Regions from separate parts of the Homo sapiens genome. Here region 2 is linked to region 1. Evidence: promoter capture Hi-C in 16 types of primary human blood cells and fetal thymus (Javierre and others, 2016). All regions are on one chromosome and are shown on one strand. Each heading gives the region's core, a stretch centred on a gene start or on the middle of the fragment in contact. The rest is flanking DNA. Distances are from core to core; before and after follow the strand shown. Region 1 holds the start of DPYD-AS2 (DPYD antisense RNA 2). Region 2 overlaps MIR137HG (MIR137 host gene).

Region 1 (6,610 bases), core at 2,719-5,218:
AAATCAGAAAAAGAACATTATGTAAAAACTGAGGAAATACGAATAAAGTATGCACTTCAGTTAATAATAATGTATCAATACTGGTTCATTAATTTGACAAAGCACATTTATATAAGATGTTAAAGATAAAGGAAACTGACTTGGTGTAGGTGGGAAATCTCTATATAGTGTACTGTCTCTGCTATTTTTCTGTAACCCTAAAACTATTCCTAAGTTTTAAAATATGTTTTAAAAAACTACCATGCTGAGAAAAAAATTTAAAGTCCTTACAAAATGGAAAGTTATACTATGTTCATGGGTCAGAAGACTCAATTTTGTTAAGATGGTGATTCACCTCAAATTGATATATCAAGTCAACACAGCCCCAATCAAAATCCTAGCAGATGCTTTTAGTAAAAATAGACAAACTTATTCTAAAATTCATATGGAATTTCAGGTGACCTAGAATAGCCAAACAACTTATAAAAAGGAAAACTAACTTTGAGAACTATAACTAACTGATTTCAAGACTAACTGTGAAGACAATATGATACCAGTGTTAATATAGAAAAAAAGATCAATGCCACAGAATACAAAGTCCAGAAAGAGACCCACAAATATACTGACAACTGGTTTTCATAAAAGTGCAAAGTCAATTCCGTGGAGAAATGAGTCTTTTCCACAATGGTGTTAAAACAATTGGATGCCCATATGAAAAAAACAAAAACAAAACAAAACGAAAAAAAACTTTGACCATAACTCATACCATATATAAAATTTAACGTGAAATGTAACCTAGAGCCAAATGTAAAACACAAAACTACACAACTTCTAGAGGAAAACATGGCAGAAAATATTTGCAACCCTAGGGTAGACAAAGATTTTTTTAGATATGACACCAAAATACACATCATAGCACAAGAAATTGATAAATTTAACTTCATCAAAAATAACAATTTCTGTTCTTTAAAACACCTGGTTGTTGTGTTTGTTTGTTTGTTTGGTTTGTTTGTTTGTTTGTTTGAGACAGGGTGTCACTCCAGTCGCCCAAGCTAGAGTGCTGTGGTGCAATCATGGCTCACTGCAGCCTCAACTTCCTGGGCTCAGGTGATCTTCCTTCCTCAGCCTCCCAAGTAGCTGGGACTACAGGCATGCGCCACTATGCCCAGCTAATTTTTGTATATTTAGTAAGGATAGAGTTTCACCATGTTACCCAGACTAGCCTCAAACTCCTGGGCTCAAGCAATCCATCAACCTCAGCCTTCCCAAATTTTGGGATTACAGGCATAAGCCACCAGGCAAGGCCAAAAGACATTCTTAAGAGAATGAAAAGACAACCCACATACTAGGAGGAAATATTTTCAAGGCACATATCTGATAAGAACTTGAATCCATAATATTGTTTAAACTCTCAAAAATAAATAATAACAGAAACAAGCCGACCAAAAAAAATAAACAAATGTCCTAAACAGACACATTACCAAATAAGACATACAGATGGCATAAAACACATGAAAAGATATTCAGCATCATTCACCATTATAGAAAAGCAAATTAAAAACGTTAAAGACTGATCATAGATGTTTACAGTTAACATATATTACTTCCGTTTTGTTTTTAAATCTCTATTTTAAAAAGCTTGTTTGACCTGGATTCCATTCACCTAAGGGTACATATTATCAACATGACTTACTACCATTGATATCAATCTTGATTGCCTGGCTAGTTAGTATTTTTCAGGCTTCTCTTCTGTAAAGTTACTCTTTTCCAACTCTTTACATATTATACTTTTCGGAAAAAAGTCACCACGCTTATTTCACACTTAAAAAGTGGGAAGCCATGCTTCACTTATTTCAGGGCAGGGTACATAGATTTTTAGTACACATATCTTTCACATCTTTCACAAGTCAGATTTATCCCTAGTACTGTATAATTTTTATGCTATCTTAAATGGTATTGCTTTAAGTTTTAATTTTTAATTGTTTGTTGTTAGTGATTAGAATATATTTGATTTTTGTATATCAATCTTGCAATATACCTAATCTTGTTTGTTCTAGTATCTTTTTGTAGATCACATTAGATTTTCTTTGTAGAGAACAAATAAGAGTAGGAAATAAAAATAATTTTACTTATTTCCAAAATAATAATAATGTGAGAAAGCAGTCTTAACTAATGGGATGAGCACAGAGTCCAGTTAAAGTCATACTTCTTTATGTAAAGTTACCAGTGTTGGGTAACTTCAAAATGGGTGGCAGAAAAATTTACATGAGAAAATAATTATTTTTAATTTCCTACCCTCTCTAAAAAGACATTTAGCAATGGGAGGCAGTTTACTACATATTCACCATATTTAATTCATTCATTCAACAAATATGCCTAGCTACAAATTTCATCAAATTATTTTATTCTATCATGTATCAATTTTCTAACTGCTAAAAGTGTATAATTTATAGTGTTAGAATGATAAATAAATACATAATTAACTACTCAACATTTAGTAACTGATACTAACTGTTAGCTATATGCTGATCTTGCTAACAGAATACATAAAATACGTTTTAAAAGCAAAATAACATAGAATGGAGACTAAAGATCATAATGCACATTGACGCAATTAAAAACAAACATTCCTACATAAACTCATTTCTATAATTTTACCTTTGTCTTAGCAACTTCACTTTTTGACATAGTGAACAACTCATATTTCACATGTACTCACCATTGTAGCTTTTTAAAAAATAATGGACATACTATACACACTCCTATATTATTTTATATTTCAATGCTGAAATTTTAATTAACATATACATATACTCAATAAAAACAATAAAAAATATGACTCATTCTCTGGAAAATTTCATTATTAAAATTACTGTTATTTTATAATGATAACATCTCATTTTGTTGTGCCCTAGGTATAATGAAACACTCTTTTTATTATAATAAAATGCAATAAAAAGTGTTCTTCCCTGTGTTACTGCTGTTATTTTGAATTATCCTTATAAATTTTCTGATAATGAGGGTAGGCTATCATCAAAAGATGCCTCCATTAAAATATAACAATGATGGTAATAGCTTAAAACTTGTATTGTACAGCTGAAAATTCATTTGTACACATATCTCTTTTCATCCACATACCAATTCTGTTAGGTGAATATACTTAACCCCATTTTACAGATGTATCCCCATTTATATGACAATGATCATAATAGCTTAAAACTTTTATTGTACAGTTTAAAATTCACTTTCACACATATCTCTTTTAATCCACATACCAATTCTGTTAGGTAGGCATTATTATTATCCCAATTTTATAGATGTAAGTACTAAAAAGCTAAGTTGTTTTCCTTGTCCTAAGCAACACAGCTAATTAGGGAAGTTAATTTTTCTCCACTGCTTTTAATCACATTAAACTGATCCTTCTATTCAACACATGAAGTTAACATTCTATGAAAATAAAACTGGAATCTCTGAGTCTACATTGATCACAAATTGAATGTATCCTCTCAATACACTGTTTTAGTCCTTTATATCTTTGATAGAAGTGAACATCCTAATTATGCCCATGAGTTACATATATGAGATGCCTTCACCCCACTTCAATAAAACTCTTTCTTAATGCCAATATAAAAAATACTCTACATTAATTGGTAATTGTGAAAAGAGACTCAGGGAGAGAGTCTGAATCAACAAAAGAGGAAAATATAGGAAGGAAAGGGAAAGACAAAGAAGGAGGGTGAGACAGAGAAGAGAGAACAAACATCCAGGAGTAGTGATGTGAATTATTTGCTTAGTTACCACAAAAGTAATAATTACACTAACTCTGTGGGAACAATGGTAATTTCACAGTAGCTCACGTTACTGTTATCACCTTATATCCTGATAACTGTGAAATTAATTTGTGGCACTACTGTATGTGTCGGCCATAAGCTGTTCCCTTGGTAACAGTATTATGCTACCATAGAGAAGGAATGTTTGGCAGTAAAATGGGCAGCAGCAAGCTGATTACACAGGGAAAAGCTTCTATCTAAATACACATAGCATAACAATCACCCCTGGAAAAACTACATGGCTTACCAAAAGAGGTCTCTCTGTTCACTGTCCATTATCTGTTGACTGAACTAGTTCAAATGAATAACAAGTAATGATCAAATTGCCAGTTTATATTTTACAACAGAGTCTTATCTTTAAAAAAATGCAAGGAGGAAATACAAAAATGTAATACATTTATCTTGCTTTCTTTTCTATTTCCTCCCCTGAAATTATTACTATGCTATTGGAAGCCATACAAACACATATATACACAAATATACATATGCTTCAATGAAAAGCAGGCATGCAGCTGACAGCTCGGCAACCCTGAGGTATAAACAAAGATACCAGACATATTTTTTGAAATAATTTTGCTCAAGGAAATTCATTTCAGTAGGAAGATCAGTTACTCTGCTGTCTCCTACCTACAAAGTTACAGAAGGAAAAGTTCAACATTTGGCCAAAAGGATAGTAGCTTACATTTCTTTTTTTTCCTTTTTTCAGCACAGAATTTTGAAGAGAGAATACACTAAAAGGGAAGAACATAACTACATGACATCATAAGAAGTCCTGAATTAGAAGCGTATATTTGAAAGGTCATGCATCCTGAGCTGCCAACAGCTTAACAACCAGAGGCAGAGGCCAGCTTTGCCAGCTCACTGCTTCTACTCATCTTTCATGATAGTAGCCAGGCTGAATATAGTTCCAGGATGATAATGAATTGGCTGGGCATACTGTTTATATTAGTATGTATGTTCCTGTACTAAACCAAGCATCATGAGGCCAGCACTATTTTGCCATTTTTCAGAAAAAAAATATGAACCCTTCAAAACATAGTAAGCCTTTTTTAAAGTATATATTTGATTTTGAAATAATCAAAATATATGTAGGGATATGACTGCATCCTAAGATTTATGATAAGTTCTGATGAGTAATATTTTCTTTCTACATGCAAGGCAAAGTTAATAGTAACTAGAAAGTCTTTATTTGGCATATCATAGATTTCTGTCAACCAAAACAACTAACTCTGGGGAACATAACGTTCTGACAACTTCAGAAGAGTTAAGTCACAGACAAAAGTTTATTGGATCTTAGTTGGCTCCTACCCACCAATTCTTTCTTTTCCAAGTGGAACATAATAGATTTTCAATATTTGTTAAATAATTGAAAAAATATCCTCAAAATTCTTTTTTGGCCATCTTCCCAACAAGAATATGGTCCTAACCTATATGTAGAGTCCTTTGCTGTGTCATCTATTTCTTCAGAATTATTCTCCTAATTCATATGTCTGGATAGTCTCTCTGAATTGTTATAGAAAATTAAAAATGTGAACTATGAAATTAATTTTTAAACTTTTATAACCATCTAGTCATACACAGAATAACCACAAATATAAACATGGTTTCAAAGAATTCCCTGTGACAATCAAGCAAATAGTGAAATAGTTTCTGCTATTATGAATTTATCACTTACTCAGTGTATGACCATGGGCAAATATCTTCACCTCAATCCTGTGAGGCAGGTACTATTATTCTACCCATTTTAAGTATAGATTTGCAATATTTGTTAAATATTCAATATTTGTTATTATAAAATGAGTATACTAATAGTACCTACCTCACAGTATTGAGGTGAAGATATTTGTCCATGTACGTACAATATGGGCATAATAATAGTACCTACCTCACAGGATTGTTATTAAGAATAAATAAGATAATCCATACAAAGTATTTAACACATTATTGAAAAATTAAATGATCAAAATAAAGCTTGTTGTTATTGTTATCTTTTAATAAATGCATCTAAAGTATTTTTAAATGTATTCACTTCAGTTATTTAAAGTTTCATCTGCTGTATCACAGAGCACATATATGTTCAGAAACATTTGTTAAGTATCTATGTACCAGATAATAAAGGTGGTATTGAAAAAAGAATAGGCATTGTAACAGGCAGACAGGAGTATAAAGTCCAGCCTTGCCACTTATGAGACTCCCATCTTCAAATTATGGAACCTTTCTGAATCTCCATTTTATACCTATAAAAAGGGGTAGACATTACGTCTCTACTTGCTTCTTATCATTAAATTAAAATTCATATTCCTTTCTATGGCAAGGAAACGAGTCCTGTATAGTCTTGTAATTCATCTCCCTCCACCAAACTTCATCCACACTGACTTCTTTAGGCCAAGCTTGTTCCTATATCAAGGTGAGCCTGGAAGCCTGTACACTGTTCCACAGTGGTACACCTCCTCTAGCCCTATAGAATGCAAAATGGAAGCACAGAGACATTATACAATGGTTAGCCAGTCACATTACATCAAGTAAAAACAACAAGTTACCATGAAGTTTATTTATTGGAGTGGCTTCAGTATTTCTTGAGAAACACAAATGATGACCCTGATTTGTATGATCAATCAGCAAGTTTTCAAAAAGGTTACTGAGTATATGACAGTAATTTCTAGAGCCAAAGATATACCCGCATGAATAAGCTTTCATCCTGAAAAAAAAATCACCTTCTGAAACTCCATGCTAGTTATCTGAAATAATAAAGGTGAAGTACAAATTATGTGATCTATCATAACCTGAAATAAACATATGTT
Region 2 (5,964 bases), core at 683-3,182, 240 kb after region 1:
TATTGTATGCCTTTTATAAAATTAAGCTGATTCTCCTAGATTGTAAACTGGGATATAATTAAATACCAGAGTAAAAAATTGGGACAGCTACTGGAATTACAAAAATAATAATAAATTAAATAAAAGAATGGTTTAAGTCCTGGAAAAATTCAATCTAATGTTATAATTATAAAGATAGCAATGTGAGCATTATATAACACTAATAAGAATACTATGTAAGTTTTACATAAATAGAACTCAAAATAGGGGCTTAAAATATTTCCCAAATGTAGAATTTACCAGGTAAGTAAAGTGATAATTTTTAATTTAAGATATCTGGTTTAATTAATAATAATAACTTGTAACTTTAAATCTACAAGAGAGCCTAAAATGGGTCAGCACTGGATCAGTGTTGCATAGAACCTGACTTTAATTGTCATTTTAAAAAAATCAATAGAAAGCAGTGGTTCTCAAATTCTAGCAGGCATCAGAATTGGGCTTGTTGAGACTCAGATTAGGGTTCACAGTTTTTATTCAGTGGGCCTGTTATGTGGTCTGAGAACAGGCATTTTTAACAAGTTCCCAGGTGACACTCAGGCTACTGCTAAGAAGGCCCCATTTTGAGAACCACTTTCTGAAGTACAGCATAATGCGTTCAGCACTTTCTTTTATAAAGCCTATCATCACATTCTCAAAAGACACTTATTGACTCTGGAATCAAATATTAATGAATTTGGGAATTACATGCAAGCACTATCATTTTATAATCACTAAAACATATTTTCTGATAACTATGGATACACGAATAATTTGTCCTGGGATAATATAATCATGTTTCATTATAAATGGTATTATATAACTTATAATTGGTTATACAGTAACTATTGCTTTGATGTGAAAAAGTGAGTATGTTTTCCTTTTCCTAACTGGTGCTTCCTTAGTCTACTCAGTTCTGAAAGACTTTCCATACTTTAAAGGAAAAAAGAGAAGGCAAATCTACTTCTAGAAAGAACTTATTACTACATCTGTGACATGTAAGTATGTTCTGGTGAAGAGACAACAGTAAGGGCTTGTAGAAACAACCACTTTCATACAGTTTAATATTTAATATTAACAACATCCTAGTCTGCTCCTTGAAAGGAGGATGCTGCTTTACATTCCTTTGACTTCCCCACCAAGTCTCCAACAGCCTGAATTGTAAGAGGTCCCGTACATCATGGATGCTTCAAGGGCAAGGTCTGTTAATTATTCCTCAGTAGCCCCAGCAGTTAGAAGAATACCAGTTGCATAGTAGGTACTTAAGAAATGTTGACAGACCTGGACACAAACCTCATGAATAGTACATGCATAATGGATATTTAATGATTTACTCTGAAAGACATCCTAGTTCTTTTGAATATACAAGTTGCTTTTTCTCAGCAAGTTCATCCCTTGCTATAAAATAAAAGATGGGCTAGTGTAGGTGTTTGTATATTAAGGCAGATAACTTCACAAGTGTCCAACTGGCCTTATGCTACTAAGTTTGCCCACGTCTATGATACAGGAATTTTAATAAAAATGTTTTAACACTAAAACAAGTTTTATTGTGTACTTTTTAATAATTTAGATATGACTTTGTACACATAAAATATATTTTTAAAATATGCACATCATCATTGTTACTTGTAATATAAGCTATAGGTTTAATGAGAATAGAATGGTGGGAGACAAATTTTACTCTGTTATGGCTGTAAGAAGGAGCTTTATAACCCAGTACTAGGACTTCTGAGGCTTAAATCGACTTGTATATTGCCCCTAAAAATGTTTCTACTAATTTCTACTCCTAAAGTATATTAATTTAGATATTATCTTTGTTTTTTCATCAGCTCTGAGAATTGTATCCAAAAACATACGAGGGAATTAACTGCATCCATTCAGTGACAACTGCACCATTACAAAGAAAGGATAGGCATAAAACTCAATGACCAAAAAGCTATGAAGCAGTTCCCTCCTTCTCTCACTGACCGGTAACCCAAACACCCAGGAAAAAACAATTGCAGAATATAGGATATGTGACAGGGGTGAAATTGCAACAGCATCATAAGCCCAAATGTCTCGATAAAACTAAACTAATTTTTTCCTAATATAATATGAAAGACCACTAATGACAAAACACTTGAGTAATAGAAGTCATTCAGAGACTCAGAAAGAAAGAAAGAAAGAAAGAAAGAAAGAAAGAAAGAAAGAAAGAAAGAAAGAAAGAAAGAAAGAAAGAAAAAAAGAAAGAAAGAAAGAAAAGAGAAGAGAAGAAAGGAAGGGAGAAAGGGAGGCAAAAAAGGGGAAATAATAAGAGAAAAAAAAGAACAAAAAAAGAAAAAGTCCTACTGCTCTGCCTGTTTTTAATACTGACACCCCATAAACAAATCTGTCCCTGGGATATGATACAGAGGCCTGGAGTCTGTGACCTCCTTTCTGAATCTATCAGGAGACACAGCCCACACCAAAACACCAGGAGTGTTGCTTCTGCCAAATATCCTTTACTAACTTCAAAGAAAGAACGGGGAAAGAGCTGTAATAATGCTTAACACGAAATACTGCCTTTCTGCTTCCTTTCCTTTCCCCATAGACTGAATGAACTGTCATTATAAGACAACATACTGCTGAGTTAATGTAACTTAAAAATTTACAGCAGGTTGTATGCCTGGAGGCACATTATGGGGCCACCTGTAGGCATCTAATTCCAGTGAAAATAATAAATAATTGTGGAGCATTCCTCAGAGTCTAGAGAGAGTGGATAAGAATCGTGTTGCTTGTTCACTCCAACATGGATTCTGTTGTGGAGGAGGATTAGAGAACTGAACTCTCTCCAACAAATGAGTAATCCTTCTCCCCACAAAAGAGTCCGCTAAATGCTACACCAGACACCTGGGTGCCAGATCTACACAGCCATTTTTGTGCACTTCTGATAATCCACCTGCAGAAATTGCCACTTGGCAATTGCTTAATATAGCACGTTGATCCATTTGAGGACTTTTTTTAAACAGTAAAGAAAGCTATTTTGTTTGTCTCTCTGTATGCTGTTTATCTTTTTGAAACTCCTCCTCACATTTTGGCAAAGATAGTGACAGTAAGAATATCTGTGATATGCCTCCAATCACTTATTTGGGAGAAATTAGTATGTGTATTTTAGCAATGCTCAGCAACCTTGACCTTTTTTTCACTGGAAAGAAAAATAAATTTACTACAGAGCTGCTTTTTTTTTTTAAAAAAAGAAAAAAGAAAGAAAAGGCCAAAGGATTTGTTATCGTGCTTTTGCCACAAGGTAGGTGGGTTAGTATTTATCCTGTGACTACTCAGAGTATGCATGTTGTTTATTTTAGATAAGATAAAATATTCTAAGATAGAGAAATTTTACATATATGTGTGTCTATACATATATAACATGAACTTTTATTAAGCAGGTTTCAAAAGATAGTCTAATTTTTGTTCAGTTGGGTTATAAATTACTTATAAACTTTACTAATGTAGTCCTCATCTTACAGCCACTGCAAATACGGTTTGGGTTTAAAATCTATGACAACCTTTGATCATAACAATCACATGGTTTGGAATTAAGAAAACTAGATTGAAATGATCATGTAAGTAAGTAGTGAAGATTGGATGCTCGGTGGTATTCAGGTTCACATTTCCTTTCCATTTGTACTACACGAAGGGTTAATAAGGTTTGCATAACCTTATTCTTTGAAGGCTTTTTGGCAGAGGCAGACTATTTAAGGATTGCTGCCAAAACAGATTTTAACCCTTTTAATCATACTGTTAATAACCACATTGTGCACGGTACAGAGCATACTGCACATAAGGCAATATCACTCTGAACACAGTTTGACCTGATACCCAATCAAGGAAAGGTTCCTAGAGACGCTTGCCATTTTGGTTGCTATGGTGAGTTTCATATTTTGTGGAAACCACTGCTAGATGTCTTAAAATAGAACTTTGTCAAGAAAAACATTGGTCCAGTGGCATATGCTGGCAGAGCCTACCAAGGTTGCTCAAATTCCCTTCCTTTGTTTTTCACTCTCCCCACTGGGGCAACTGTTCCAAGCATCAGCCCACTAGTCTGGCAGGCAGAGAATCCAGAAACTTGCTGCTAATTACAATGTTGACAATTCCCAACCTGTTTACTGGCGCCAGCAATCAAACCGCATCCTCTCGAGTGAACCAAAAAGCACTTGCTGGCTTTAGCTTCCTGAGGTTCCAAGCTGGCTATATTAATTACTGTTAACTTAAAACTGTATGTTGTACAGAAGAAGCTTAATTAGCTGGTATGAGGATTAATATCTATCCTTTACACAATTTAAAACATTTTGTTCTTGGCCAAATTATGTGAATCCATAAAATATTTTTCTTTGGACAAAATATTGATTATTTTAGGTGTGGCTTCTCAGTGCCAATTTTTCCACTGGATTATTTTCAGTTGAGCAAGACAATAGATTTTAAAAAGTTAGTCTGTCTGTCTATCTACCTACCTATCTTGGGATTATATCTACAACCTTTTTAAAAAACTTTAGAAAGAGAATGAACATAGTTATTTACAGTTATTGTTTATAATTAATAAAATAGGAAAACCTATTAAATGGGATTAAATGGTCAAAAGGATATCAACTTTCTATCTTGATGAATTTAAAACAAAGATAGTTACACCATTTTTCTAGTGAACCCTCAATGCTATGATAGAGGAATGATTTGGTAGTCATATGGCACATAATGGTGTATGTATCAATGACAGGCTAGATATACAATGGTGATCCCATAAACTTGTAATACTGTATTCCTACTATACCTTTTCTATATTTAGAGTGTTTAGATTCACAAATACTTACCATTGTGTTACAATGGGCTACATTATTCAGTATAGTAACATGTGGCTGTACAGGTTTCCAGCCTAAGAGCAGTAGGCTGCCATACAGTCTAGGTGTATAGTAGGCTATACCATATAGGTTTCTGTAAGTACATTCTAGGTTGTTACTACAATGCCAAAATTGCCTAAGGATGTGTTTCTCAGAATGTATCCTTGTTGTTAAGCAACATATGTACGAGGAGCATGCTTCACGATTGATAAGTTGGTTGAACCCACAGTGCAAAATCACCTTCTCAAACCCCTAAATTGTTAGCATTGCAAGTAACCCAGATGTGGCAGTGGCAGACCACAATGCAATTTTCATAAATAGCACAACAGAAGTGAACAGGGTTCAATTGCAAAATTGAGAATTTTACTTTGATTCTGCCCTAATCCAAGAGCTGATCTGTCCCTGTTTATTTAACAAGATATCTTTGAACATTTAAAAAGTGAAGTAAAAGTAAATATAATTTTAAATTGTATATTAAAATGTGATTTTATTTCTGTTATTTGGTATGAGAACATCATGGGGTCACTATTATTTAACAATGTCACTTTAAATTTTTCATTGAATACACTGCATTACAAATGTTTTTGAATCCAATCTTTTAGTCAACATTTGCATTTGGAAGCTTATTAAACTGAGTTGATGTAATTGTGATTAACATTTCCCTTGTTTTACTGAAATATTTTCAACTAGGGTAAAAGGTCAAATTATTCCTTTAATTATGATTCATCTTCTGTTTCTACATTAAGATAGCCTATACCATTTTCCAAGATTTAAAAAATCATTAGTACAAGCACACTAGAGACCTTTGGAATCTGTTGATACATTCACATCTATATATACAATATAAGAATTTTTGAAAAGTTTAGATTACTTGGGTAAAATATCACTGAATAGTATGAAAAATATAAGAATTATTCTCAGATAATAGGAAGAGTAATGTGAGAAAAACTTCAACATTTAGTGAAGTTTTAGTGTGATGTATTAGAAAGAAAACACCCAACAAGGACTTAGAAAATGGGTTCCAAATATTATCTGGGTGTCCATGGAGAAGTTATTTGGATTCTCTGTGTTGTGAGGACTTCATATGGGAAACATGGGA

The links. The method cuts DNA at HindIII sites, captures the fragments that hold promoters and counts their contacts. A CHiCAGO score of 5 or more calls a contact.
Region 2: a contact is called between a fragment that was not itself captured here and the fragment with the promoter of DPYD-AS2 in region 1, in 2 of 17 cell types (M1 macrophages and M2 macrophages). The highest score is 6.7, in M1 macrophages.

The regions. Positions count from the first base shown.
Region 1 is chr1:97,792,953-97,799,562 of GRCh38, forward strand. DPYD-AS2 (DPYD antisense RNA 2) reads left to right here and starts at 3,969. Exons shown (of 3, transcript NR_046591.1): 1 at 3,969-4,120; 2 at 4,263-4,343; 3 at 4,516-5,099. The region is part of intron 3 of DPYD (dihydropyrimidine dehydrogenase); the gene reads right to left. The HindIII fragment of the contact is 2,382 bases long and covers 1,616-3,997 here.
Region 2 is chr1:98,031,872-98,037,835 of GRCh38, forward strand. All of the region lies in intron 3 of MIR137HG (MIR137 host gene), which reads right to left. Among named protein-coding and RNA genes, the nearest start is that of MIR2682, 10 kb to the right of the region's middle. The HindIII fragment of the contact is 4,667 bases long and covers 1-4,266 here.